Regions from separate parts of the Homo sapiens genome. Here regions 1, 3 and 4 are each linked to region 2. Evidence: promoter capture Hi-C in human tissues and cell types (Jung and others, 2019). All regions are on one chromosome and are shown on one strand. Each heading gives the region's core, a stretch centred on a gene start or on the middle of the fragment in contact. The rest is flanking DNA. Distances are from core to core; before and after follow the strand shown.

Region 1 (2,896 bases), core at 203-2,702, 120 kb before region 2:
ATAGAAGAGAGGCTGGTCTAACTTCTCAGATATCCTTAGATGCCATGACTTGTGTTCCTGGTCTGAGTGCCTCTTGCCAATGTATGTGACATTTTGGACTCATTTCCATGTTTCTTACCAAAAAAGTTAACATTAACTGAGCTGCCAGCAACATTCTGAATATTTAGGTCTTCAAAGCACCAATTTGTGTGGGCAGGGGCACAGATAATTAGCATTACAACTGCTGGCTAACATCCTGCTCTGTAAGATCTAAAGGTGTCATCTGCCTAGTGATAACAGCTGCATTATATTTAAATAATAACATGGAAAATAGAAGCTTCTCACCCAGAAGGCTCTTCACCATGAGATGCCATCTCCAGGTCCCCTTCTGTCCCAGGAAAAGAGGCCAGTGTCAAATCACTGAGCCTAATCATTTAGAATACATAGCTTTCTTTTGGAAGATTTCTGTTGAGGGTGATTTTTGAAAGAGGAAGTACAGAAATAGGATTCATTGACTCCAAGCTTCTTCTTGTAGCAATATGGCCTCCAAAGTTCATGGAGTAATCTTCTCTTCGCAGTTGGTTTTGGGGCATAGAAAGAGTTGCAGCCTTTCCTGGCTTTACACCATCCTAATCTTAGGAAGACTTCTGACTCCGGGTGGAGCTGGTTGTACACTGACTCATGGGCCTTGATTTTGGGAATGAAAGCCACTTACATTGGTGCTTTTAGCAACTTCCCAGGGACTCAAACTGCTATAGTCTAAAGGGAAATAAATGCCTTAGCCTGCTGCCATGGCTGCTACCGTGCACCAGAAAAACCTAGTGAGTAGGACATGGAGCTGCTACTTTTCCCAGGGAACCACCCAGCTTTTTAAGGCATCTAATATAAAGTCAGAGAATGAGCTAAGTCAGAGCTACTCCAGGTGTGACCCAGGGACCCACAGCTTCAAGATCACCCGAGAGGATGTTAGAAATGGGAAATCTCAGGTTCCAAGCCAGACCTGCAGAGTCCATCTTAACAACTCTCCAAGTGACTCCAATGCTCACTAAAGTTTAAGAAGCACTGAAGCACTGGGCTAAGTTACAGGTTCATGGCTTCTCTTCCATAAAACATTAAGCCCTAATATAATCAGCTTCCTGGGAAAAAAAAAAGTAAAACAAATATTCTTTATTTCTATGTATTCATTCAAGATTTGGTTGGGGCCAGGAGAGGTGGCTCACACCTATAATCCTAGCACTTTCGGAGGCCAAGGCAGGCAAATCACCTGAGGTCAGGAGTTCGAGACCAGTGTGGCCAACGTGGTGAAACCCTATCTCTACTAAAAACACAAAAATTACCCGGGTGTGGTGGCGGCCATCTGTAATCCCAGCTACTTGGAAGGCTGAGGCACAAGAATTGCTTGAACCCAGGAGGTGCAGGTTGTAGTGAGCCGAGATCACACCTCTGCACTTTAGCCTGGGTGACAGAGGAAATTCTGTCTCAAAAAAAAAAAAAAAAAAAGAATTGGTTGACAACCACTATATGTCAGGCTATGCTAGACGTGGAGATGCCATGAGAGCCCACCCTGCTCATGCCCGGTGATGGCTGTACAACACTGTGAATGCACCTGATGCCATTGAATTATACAGTTAAAAATGGTTAAAACCGGGCGGGAGGGGGAATTATATGGCAAGGCAAAAGGAAAAAAAAAAACCCACAGTCTAAAAAGAAAAAGAAAGAATCAGAACCCGACTCAGGTATACCCCTAATGTTTGAATTATCAGATAAGCAATGTAAAATAACTACAAATATTTTCTGAAGGACTCTAATGGAAAAAGTAGACAACATGCAAGAACTGATGGTAAATGTAAGCAGAGGGATAGACATTCTAAGAAAAATCAAAAGGAAATGCAAGAAATTTTTTAATTGCTGTTAGAAAAATGAAGTTTTTTTTTTTTTTGAGACAGTCTCATTTTCTTTTTTTGAGACACAGTCTTGCTCTGTCAGCCAGGTTGAAGTGCAGTGGTGATATCTCAGCTCACTGCAGTTTCCATATCCTGGGTTCAAGCGATTCTCATGCCTCAGCCTCTGGAGTAGCTGGACTTACAGGCACATGCCACCACACCCAGCTAATTTTTGTATTTTTAGTAGAAATGTGTTTCACTGTGTTGGCAAGGCTGGTCTCGAACTCCTGGTAATCCACCCACCTCGGCCTCCCAAAGTGCTGGGATTATAGGCGTGAGCCACCACACCTGGCAGAAGAATATTTCTGATGGGCCCCTCAGAAGACTGCACATGGTCAAGGAAAGAAATCAGTGAGCTTGAAAATAGGTCAATAGAGATTTCCAAACTGAAATGCAGAGAATGAACAAAACAAAACAAAACAGAACATCTGAGAACAATGGGATAATCTCAAAAGGTGTAACAAAGACACAATTAGAATAAATGGAAGAAAGAGAAAATGGAGTGGAAGAAATATGTGAAGTAATAATGGCCAAGAACTTTCCAAAATTAATGACAGACACCCAATCGCAGATTCAAAATCTCAGAGATCATCAAGCAGAATAAATAACAAAAAACTATACCTAGGCATATCATATTCAAACTACAGAAAACCAAAGACAAAGAGAAAACCTAGAAATAAGCCTGAGGGAGGAAAAAAAAACCAAACACACACACTTTACCTACAGAGGAACAAGGATAAGAATTACAGCAGATATACATCAGAGACCATAAAAGCAAGAGAGAATAGAATGAAAAATTTTCTGTTGAAAGGGTAAAATAAATCCGCCAATCTAGACTTCAATATTTGAGAAATTATCCTTCAAAAGTGAAAAAAATAAAGATTTTTCCTATAAATGTAAACTGAGAAAATTCATCACCAGCAGACCTGTCCTGCAAGAAATATTAACAGATTTTTTTTCAGGCAGAAGAAAAA
Region 2 (3,211 bases), core at 102-2,601:
ACTTATTTAATCTGCATTCTGGGTGGCCCCTAGGGCAGGTGACGGGCATTCTCTACCGCAGGATGGTGCCCCACCTGGTCCTCCCCAGGCCCTGTGGCCATCCTGGCCACCTCCCTGTGGGCTCTCCCAGCCCTGCTGTTCAGCACTGTCCCTACCTCACAGAGGTAGGGACCTCTTTTTCTTACCTTCTTCCTTTTCTTACCTTCGTTCCTCCAATCCCTGACGGCCCCCAGACCTACTGTAGTTGTCTCTGTGTCTTCGGAGAGAAGACACCCCATTAATGTGCCATGAAACCAAATTTATTCCATTTAAAGGGCTGCCTTCATTCGGAGGCTTTGTCCATGTCTTGGTTTTAACCTCTCTTTTCTGAAATTACAGTAAAAATAAATAGGTGTGTGTTGCTTTAACTTTTCCCTTGGAGAAATCTGAAGCCCCCACCTTTTACTGTCATGGGAAACACCAGGGCCTGAGAAGAACTCCCACCTCGGGCGAGGATGCCGTTCCTGAGCCCCACGCGTGGCCTGGGCTTTCCTTTCCCTACTTCTCTCTTCCCCCGACTTCAGCAGATCCTGAGTCCCACAACTATTCTAGCATTAGCTTCTGCAAGCCCAGCTGGGCTGAGGTTTCTGCGGCTGCTTCCTCTTGGTCTCTCTGGAAAACTCCACTCATTCAGCACCCAAGCAAGAGGTCACCTGTCTGGAACGCACTCCCTCGGCAGCGCTGTGCCACCTCTTTCCACCCCATTTGAGTGGCCGGCACTTACCTGTGCTGTTTGTTACCTGACGTGTCCCTTCTCCCACCTACCAGGCAGTTGGTGCGGCGCTCCCAGCACACTCGGGCAATGAGTGGGCAGGCGCTCAGGTAACGTTTGTCGAATGAATGAATGAGCCACGTGCTCAGGAGGACCCTTTCCAGAGCCTCTGCTGGTTTGTTCTGCTCCGGGACTCTCCACCAGGGAGAAATCCGAGCTGGGGACCTCGCACCACCAGGCTCCGGCCTAAGCCCGCGCCTTGCAAGCCGCCCGTTTCCTACCTCCCGTAGAAACCCCCCGTCCGTCCCGCCCCCCTAAGGGCGCACCCCTCTCACGGCGTGAGCGCCAGCCCCGGGAGCTCCAGGAACTCAGGAGAACCCCGCGGGGGTGCCCGGGTGCGGAGCGCGGGGCTGGGCGCACTGGGACAGAGGAAGGGGAGCCCCGGCGACCGCGGGGTCGGGGCCCAGGGTCCGCGCCGAGGGCGGGCGCAGAGCCCGCGGCCGTCCCGCCTCCCGCCGGCGCTCCCGGCCTTTCCCATCCGGCCCGCGACGCTCCGCCCGCCCCGTCCCACATGACGCCGCCTCCGCCGCAAACTTTTTCCTCCCCATCCTGTCGCGGCTCGAAAGGAATGGAAAATGGCGGCCTAGACGCGGAGTTTCCTGCCCGACCCGCGGCGGCTCCGGCGGCGCCATGACGCGCTGGGTGCCCACCAAGCGCGAGGAGAAGTACGGCGTGGGTGAGCAGCGCCGCCGCCGCCGCGCCTCTCGCCCCAAGCCCAGGCTCCGGCGGGGCGGGTGTGCCGGGCGCCTGTTGCCGCCGCCCCGAGCGGCCGCCGGGCCGGGGAGAGGCGCTTCCGCCCGCGCCCGCGCCGCCGCCCCGCTCGCAATGCCCGGCGACCCCGGCCGCCCCGCGCCCCCGGCGGCGTCAGCTCCAGCCCCGGGGATGCGGGTCGGGAACACGAGGGGGTGGGGTGGGAATGGGGGCGGGCGCGTCCCTCCCTAGGGTGTCCCCTCCGACGCCCGCTCCTCTGGACCTCTGCCGTGGAGCCCCCCGGGCTACCCCCAACTCCCCGGCCCCGGCCGCTGCTATCTGCGCGGCTGGGCCCGTCAGGGAAGCCCAGGGGTCACTGTCTCGCGGCGGCTTCTGCTTCTTGGATGAACTTGCGTCCCGCGTCCGGGCTCTGGGTGGGCGGGCTCAGGTCGGCGCGGTCCCAGCGGATAATTCCGCCCTTTCCCGGCGGGGAGGAGGGGGCGCGACCTGGGTGGCCAGCGCCCCTTGCCCCTCGGCGGTCTCGCTGGGGACCGTGTGGGACCTTGGAGAGAAGGCGAGCGGCCGAGCGCCCCAGTGGCCCCAGGCCTGGAGACCCTTCCGGGAGAGCGGGGGCCTGTTTTTGCTCCGCGGCTCTTTGTCGCTTCCGAGGGGGGATGGAAGGAGTCGGGTTGCAAGTTTACATTTCGGACCCGAGTGCGCATTCCTGAGAGGGAGGCTTTCCCTTGCGGCTGAATAGACGGGCCCGTCCGCGTGGGACCCGCATCCTTGCGCCCCGGGGACCCGCAGCCGGTCGCCGAGGCCTGCGGACGCCCACCTCTTCGTGATCTGCGCGCCTGGTGTCGGGACTGGGCCGTGGCTACTCTCCTGCTCTCCCGGGTCCGGGATCTTCCCAGTTGGTTTTCGGGCTTGCTATTCCCCGTCCCACCATCCACAGACATCCTTGACCGCCTGCCTCATCCAGGCCACTCGACCCGACTGGGAAGACCTTTGGTGGTCTCGCCTCCCACAGCCCAGGCTGTGTCCTCCAAGGGCACCGTCTCAGCAGCAGCCCCGCGCCCATTCTGTGCCTGGCCCGTGCTGGACCTGCCCGACCCTCTGCTGGTGTGGTTCGAATCCTGGCTCTCTGACTTTTGGGAAGCGCCCTGGCAGCCCTTGTCCCCGGAGCGCTCTCCTTTCTGTGAACAGTTGCTTCTCTCTGCTGTCAATGACTTACAGTATGCCCTGACCACGGAGCCAGCTGGACAGTGGTCACGGGGACAGTCCTGGGACAGCCCTGGGTCCTACCGGGCCTGCACTTAGCTTGTTCCACATGCTGGGAGGCATAGGGGGCCTCCTTGCTTCAGGACCATTATGACTGAGCTTCCTCCCCATCTCCCCATTTTGCAGATGAGGAAACTGAGGCCCAGACACATTCACAAAAGTGCAGGAGAGCTCATCTGACTGCAGACTCAGTGTGTAACCTGCACCCTGTGCACCACCTAATGGATTCAGTCTGGGGCACTTGGCACGGGCCTTCAGTCTGCATCAGAGGCGAGAGGTTCGGGGTGGATATTCCACCTGAGAATGCTTGGGTTGTGGCGACAGTGGGGGTCCCTGCGGGGGTAGTGTGTAGAGGAGAGAGCTGAGGACTGACTCCCAGGGAACCTAGCACCAGCACACGCAGAGAGAGAGGAAGAGGTGGATAGGCAG
Region 3 (3,325 bases), core at 279-2,778, 71 kb before region 2:
TGTTCCCCAAAGTTCATGTGTTGGAAAATTGATCCCCAATGTGTGGGGAGGTAGGTCCTAATGAAACTTGATCCCCAACATGTGGGGAGATAGGTCCTAATGTTTGGGTTATGGGGACACTGCCCTAGTGAATGGATTAATGTTGTAACTGCAGCAGTGGGTTCCTTATAAAAGGATGAGTCTGGCCCCTTCTTTGTCTTTTGCCCTCTCTTTGCCCTTCTGCCATGCTGTGAGGCAGCTAGAAGACACTCACCAGATGCTAGCCCCTTGAACTTGTACTTCCCAGCCTTGAGAACCATAAGCCAATGAATTTCTATTCATAATAAATTACTCATCTGTGGGATTCTGTTATAGCAGCACTAAACAAACCAAGACAAAGAGCGCTTTTTTAAAAAGAAGAGTTAGCTCTCTCAAGGGTCAGAACACATAGGTTTCTGAAACCTAGAAGCCTAGTAGCATACATCAAGTCGTTTCCTGCTCCCAGAACCCTGAAATGCTCCCCTTTACTTGACAAGTGCCTAGTACCACGTGGCTACTGTTTACTGAGCTACTGAGCACTCACTATGTGCTAGGCAGTACTGTAATAAATGCTTTCTTGTCATGGTTCTTACCACCCAGTCACAGTGTTAACTAAAGTCAGAACCAGGATGCAGACTCATGCTGGTTTGATTCCAGTGCACGTGTCCTTATGGCTCCACCCCAGGGCATAGAACTGCGTGTTCTGCCTCATTTCCTATTATTAGGTATCACTTCCTAGCAGCATCCCAGGCTTTCCCGTCGCAACCTCTTGCTTCTGCTGTTCTGTCTGCAAAAATGCTACCTCACCACTGAGTCTGTGGAAAGCTGATCATCCTTCAAAATGAGACCATGTGACTCCCTTCAGAGAGACAATTTTGCAATCCCCCCATTCTCTGTGTGTCCACACCTGCTTTTCTACATGTGTTAACACCTGGTAGCTTCTTGACAAAACCACAGAAGTATTTGGAGGCTCATGGTGTCCTGGAAAGTGCCAGGACCTTCCCAAAAGAGTTTGAATCCTATTCGTGATCTGTGTTCACTATGTGAGCTTGAGTAAGTTCCTTAGATATCCTGTATATAAAGCAGGCCCACCTGGAAGTGTTCCCATGAGTTCTAATGAGAGACCACCTATGTGGCCCTCACTTCCTTCCCCTTCCCCACTGAGAGCACTTCTCATTATCTGCCTCACCTAGTAGTGAGTTGGGTATTTCTCTTGCTACCTGTATTAAATTGTGTAAGATACATGCATAGGTCATAGATCAGTCATTGTGTGTTTCCTGCTTAACTCCATATGTAGCAGGGCCTCTATTACTACCTATCAAATTGAATGAAATGCACATCTCCCCCAGCATATGGAGTAAAACACTTAGATCTCCCTCATTTATTCAATCTGGATCTCAGAATATACATTCTTAATGGGGTAAGAATTATTCGGAGTTGCTAACTTTCAGAAATAGTCTTCACATGGAACCTATAAACCTTTAGCAGGAAGCTGCATTTATGTAAATATGTGATGAATTGAAAGATTTCAGTGTATATTTTATTTTTTTTTTTACTTTTTTCTTTCTTCTCCACCCCATGGTTCTTTAGCAGTATATATTTTAAACAATGTTTCCAAGCAGAGTTCCTATGACAGCGCAGGATAGATTGGATTTAATTTTTAATATTCTGTTCTTAGTTATTAAGGACACCCCACTCTGCCCCAGCATCTCTGGAGCTACCAGCATAGAGAAGCCAAGCAGAGAAAGGAAGAGAGCATGATTCCCAGATTCTTGGTCAATGTTAACTCTCACCAGCTGTGGAATATTACACAAGTGAATAAATTCATCTAAGCCTTTATTTCCCATCTGTAAAATGAGGATAATAATAGCACTGTTCTTGCAGCAATGCTGTAAGAATTCAATTAGAAGCCGTACACAAAATCACTTGCTAATATGTCAGAAATATGATGCTAATGCTAATTATTGGTGAGGCACTATTGCAGTTCACCATAGTTCTGAGCTTCCTGAATACCTAGTAAATAGGGAAAGCCAGAGTTTACATAGTTTTTAGTGTTTAGTAAACTTAACACTTCAAGTGTTAAGAGGAAGCTTAACAGTTCTTTGAAAAAGAAACTTTAACCCTCTATACACAGAGAAATTTGTCCTGTGGATACACACAGGAGACTGGGAATTTCCTAATGAATGATGTATTTGGGGCCATTTTGGAAGGAACAAAGACCTTCTTCCTGGGAATGTTTTTCACAGTGATACCTGGTAAAAGTTGAGGGTACAATATTGGATTGCCATTCAGTAAAGGAGTTCCTTGGCAGTCAGACTTTTTGTTTCTTGCAAAGCCCTTTCTTGGGCTTCAGAATTTCTCAGTATCAGAGAATGGCTTCATTATCTATAAATCTTCCACATGGTAGAAGAGGGTGGGGGAGAGAAAAAAAGAGAGCGAGAGCTCATTTTCCTTCAGGTGTCAGCCTCACCTATCATAGGGCAGAGAATCAAGCATCCATGATTCCCTATAACTATCTTATTTGACAAGCTGGAAGAATATTAAAATCTTTACTAGAATATAGCACTTCACCAAGAGAAAAATCCCTAAGTAAAATGCTTTCTTGCTCCAAAGTAAATTATTAAGTCACAAATTTATATCAATGAGCACAAGTCTCCTTTGCCTAATGCTCAAATGTTTAGCAAATATGTGTTGGGCATCTATTATGGGCCTAACAATATTACTATTGATAAGAAGCATATAATAAAAATAATAACAAACACTTACTGGATGCTTTCTATGAGCCAAAAAACAATTCTGGATATTCTTGGTCTTAAAATATTGACATATCTCTCTCACACACACACACACACACACACACACACACCTCTGAGCTGTGGAATTCATTCAGGACTCAGGAACAGCCTCTTCTCCAGGCACTCACTCCCAACAGTGGCTTTCTCCTGGATTGTGGGCAGTGAGTCCTTCCTCCTTGCCGTTTTCTCTCACGTGATGAGGCAACACCACATGGATGCAGTGTCCTTCCCCCAGAGAAAAAGCTGTTCCCTTGTCTAAGCACAGTGACTTCAGACTGGAAGAACCAGACTGGAGGCAGCCTCCCAAGGGACGAGGTACCATTCTGGGCCACCAGCAGGCTCTGGGGTGCCCATGGAGAGAGTCTCACTCACCTGGTTGACCATACAGGTCCAGGGCAGACAGAAGTGTCTGAGGTCCTGAAGGGAAAGACCGACACCCTGTTGGAGCCATACTCTGGGGATGCAGAAACCTTTCCTCTTACTCCCATCAGCCCATAGAGGGCAGGGGTCCT
Region 4 (3,033 bases), core at 212-2,711, 97 kb before region 2:
CAAGCTCTAGAACAGACTGCCTGGATTCACTCCTTTTTTCCATCATTAACTAGCTGAGTTATTTTTAGGCATTTGCTGCATTTCACTGTCCTCTTGGTCTGTAAATGGGGATAATAACAGTCCCTACCTCATAGGGCTTTCATGAGGATTAAGTGGATGATGTTATTATGTAAAGCACTTAGAACAGTATTTAGCACAATGCAAGTGTTCAATAGATGCTAGCAAATATAATTATTAATTTCTTGTTGTGTCTAGAATAAAGCCTGGCATATAGTACGTGTATAATACATGGTACCTGCTATTCATTCCCTTGGCATCTGGAATCTGTCACTAACCTTCAGAAAAGAAAATTTCAAATTATCAGAAGGACAAAGAATTCAGAATAGACTAATGAAACTGTACCTCAGACAGTAGTCAAATAACCAGGCAAGGGGTAGAAAGGCCCATCTGCGCAGGAAGAAATGTGTATAACTACTACAGACTTTAAAATTCCATAAAGTTGCATGAGCAATTAAAACACATTAGGGACCAATTCCATATTTGCTCCCAGAATGAAATAGCATAATTGTGTCGCTACACTAATATCATCATTTCCATTTAGCTGAAAGAGTTCTCAGGTCATAAACACAATGGTTTTTCATTCTACCATGGCCAACTGCTATGAGCATAACGGAGTCCTAATGACCCAGCCAGCTTAATCAAAGCAAGGAATTTTCTTTCCAGAAGCTTCTGTCATGTGAATTGTATGATCTTAACTTAAAATTATGGCACTGCCCAAACACAAAGCAATATTCATTCACCTTTATGAAGCTCTTGGCTCTGAAGATTTAAAACACTCTGAGCCAAGTACTTAGAATTCAGGGAAACAAGAGTTTCATCAGAGTTACATCATGGGGTGATAATACTTACGAAGAACTGATCATCTTTCCTGCCCTGTAACCACATTTCACAGATGACGAAGAAGGATTTCACCTTCTGCCTTTGACATCAGCATCTTTTCTCACATTATAAATATTAGTCTCAGGCTCTTGTGGGCCCTGGTAAAATGACAAGATGCCCAAATTTGTCATGTTTCTTCCTCATTTTTATATTTCCCAAATTTTGGCAAATGTCTAACCAACAGCCTTGCCAACAGCCATGGGGTCAGTGAGACCTAAGAGATGGCCACATCCTCTACTTCTTCCTTACATCAGGCTCTGATATAACAGCTAAATATGTGACTTTGGGAAGGTCTTGAAGTCCAAGTTTACAATTCTGCTTGGCATGTGAGCAGCACTTGCTGTTGAAAGACAGAAAGAGAAGTGCTTGTCAGAAATAACTTCTTTAACAGGACATTTCTTGAAAAGAAATAAGACCATTTAATCCCATTGTTAAGCTATACTATAAGGGTCACTGCCTTCTTCTCAGGTAGGAAAATTTCATTACAAGAGACATTCTTGATGTATGTCGGTCTGAATTTTATTTGAAGATAATTCTGCACTTGTAGAAAATCTCTTTCTTCTTCCTTGAAGAAAAAGCAGCCCTGCTGTACTCTGCCACTCTTGCTAAACAGGAGGGATGTCACGAATTGCTTTGGAGTTTGACAGGAACCTGAACTTCCTGTGAATAAGATCATTATTAGAAGAATACAACTGAATAGGAAATGAATTCAAACAGGCTAAGGATGCATCAGCCTCAACTGGTTGAGTAAATTATGGCAGTCATACAATGGGACATTACCAAGCTATTTAAAAGAATGAGGCAGTTCATGAACTGATATAGAATGTTCACCAAAACAATATATTACTAAGTGCGAATAGACAGGCTATAAATTGTGGGTACAATAAGCCATTATCTGTGTGTGTGTGTGTGTGTGTGTGTGTGTGTGTGTGTGTCTGTATGTGCATGCATTTAAAAAGGAAATATATATGCCTATGCTTATATATGCATAGAATTTCAATGGAAGAATACATTAGAAATTGCTAACAGTGGTTATCTATGGAGGTAGGTAACCAAGAATCTAGTGCACTGTAGTAAAAGGGAGACTTACTTGTTAACTATATACTTCATGTATTTTTGCTGAGCTATTGTATTCTATTCAGAAAGCAAGAGTATGAGTTATATTTTTTAAAATAAAGATGATTCTACAAATGATGTTAGAACAGCTGCCATCTGTATGCCAAAATAAATAAATCTTGACCTATATAAATGTTAACCCAAAATTAATCAGAGGTTTAAATGTAAAAATACAAAACTATAAAACCATTAGATTTAAAACCTAGGAGGAAAATCATCAAGACCTGAGGTTAGGTAAAGACTTTCTTGAAATGACACCAAAATCATGATTCACTAAAAAACATCGATAAATTGGACTTTATTAAAATTAAAGACTTGTGGTCATCCAAAGGTATTGCCAAAAAAATAGAGACAAGCTATAAACTGGAAGAAAACATTTACAAATCACATATTCAACAAAGGATTTGCATCTGGAATATATACAAAACTCTCAAACCTCAACAATAAGAAATCAAACAACTCTTGTCTGGGTAGGAAGAAAAAAATAATCAGAAAAAAAGAAGAAATCAAACAACTCAATTAAAAAAAAATAGTTTTAGAGACAGGGTGTCACTATGTTGCCCAGTCTTGTCTTGAACTCCTGGCCTCAAATGATCCTTCCACCTCAGCTTTCCAAAGTACTGGAACTAAAGGCATGAGCCATCACACTTGGCCCTCAATTTTTTCAAAAACGGGAAAAGGACTTGAATAGGTACTTCACCACATACTAAATAAGGATGGTAACTTAGAGAAATACAAATTAAATCATGATAAAATACTGCTATAAACCTCTCAGAATAACCAAAATTTTTAAAAATACTGACAACATCAAATACTGGAAAGGATGCAGAGCAACTGGATCTTTCCTGCATGGATGATAAGAACACAAAATGGTATAGCCACTCTGGAAAACAGTTTGGCAGTTTCCTATAATGGTAAACATTGACTTACCATATGACCCAGCAATCCCATTTCCAGGTGTTTGCCCTAGGAAAAAAA

The links. Contacts are between HindIII fragments. The study calls those that stand out against the background at their distance.
Region 1: a contact is called between a fragment that was not itself captured here and the fragment with the promoter of DOCK1 in region 2, in 2 of the 25 tissues and cell types used here (bladder and mesendoderm cells).
Region 3: a fragment that was not itself captured here is called in contact with the fragment with the promoter of DOCK1 in region 2 in 4 of the 25 tissues and cell types used here (dorsolateral prefrontal cortex, heart left ventricle, mesendoderm cells and 1 more).
Region 4: a contact is called between a fragment that was not itself captured here and the fragment with the promoter of DOCK1 in region 2, in 2 of the 25 tissues and cell types used here (spleen and thymus).

The regions. Positions count from the first base shown.
Region 1 is chr10:126,787,810-126,790,705 of GRCh38, forward strand. No RefSeq gene overlaps it. Among named protein-coding and RNA genes, the nearest start is that of DOCK1, 120 kb to the right of the region's middle. The HindIII fragment of the contact is 5,265 bases long and covers 1-2,896 here.
Region 2 is chr10:126,904,077-126,907,287 of GRCh38, forward strand. DOCK1 (dedicator of cytokinesis 1) reads left to right here and starts at 1,352. Exons shown (of 52, transcript NM_001290223.2): 1 at 1,352-1,487. The coding sequence starts at 1,442. It overlaps LOC105378550 (a long non-coding RNA gene), which reads right to left and starts at 1,302. Exons shown (of 2, transcript XR_946449.3): 1 at 484-1,302; 2 at 1-366. LOC124900289 (a long non-coding RNA gene) reads left to right here and starts at 1,655. Exons shown (of 2, transcript XR_007062336.1): 1 at 1,655-3,211. RefSeq lists an enhancer at 2,373-3,121. The HindIII fragment of the contact is 5,553 bases long and covers 1-3,211 here.
Region 3 is chr10:126,833,065-126,836,389 of GRCh38, forward strand. No RefSeq gene overlaps it. Among named protein-coding and RNA genes, the nearest start is that of DOCK1, 71 kb to the right of the region's middle. The HindIII fragment of the contact is 4,715 bases long and covers 1-3,325 here.
Region 4 is chr10:126,806,635-126,809,667 of GRCh38, forward strand. No RefSeq gene overlaps it. Among named protein-coding and RNA genes, the nearest start is that of DOCK1, 97 kb to the right of the region's middle. The HindIII fragment of the contact is 7,897 bases long and covers 1-3,033 here.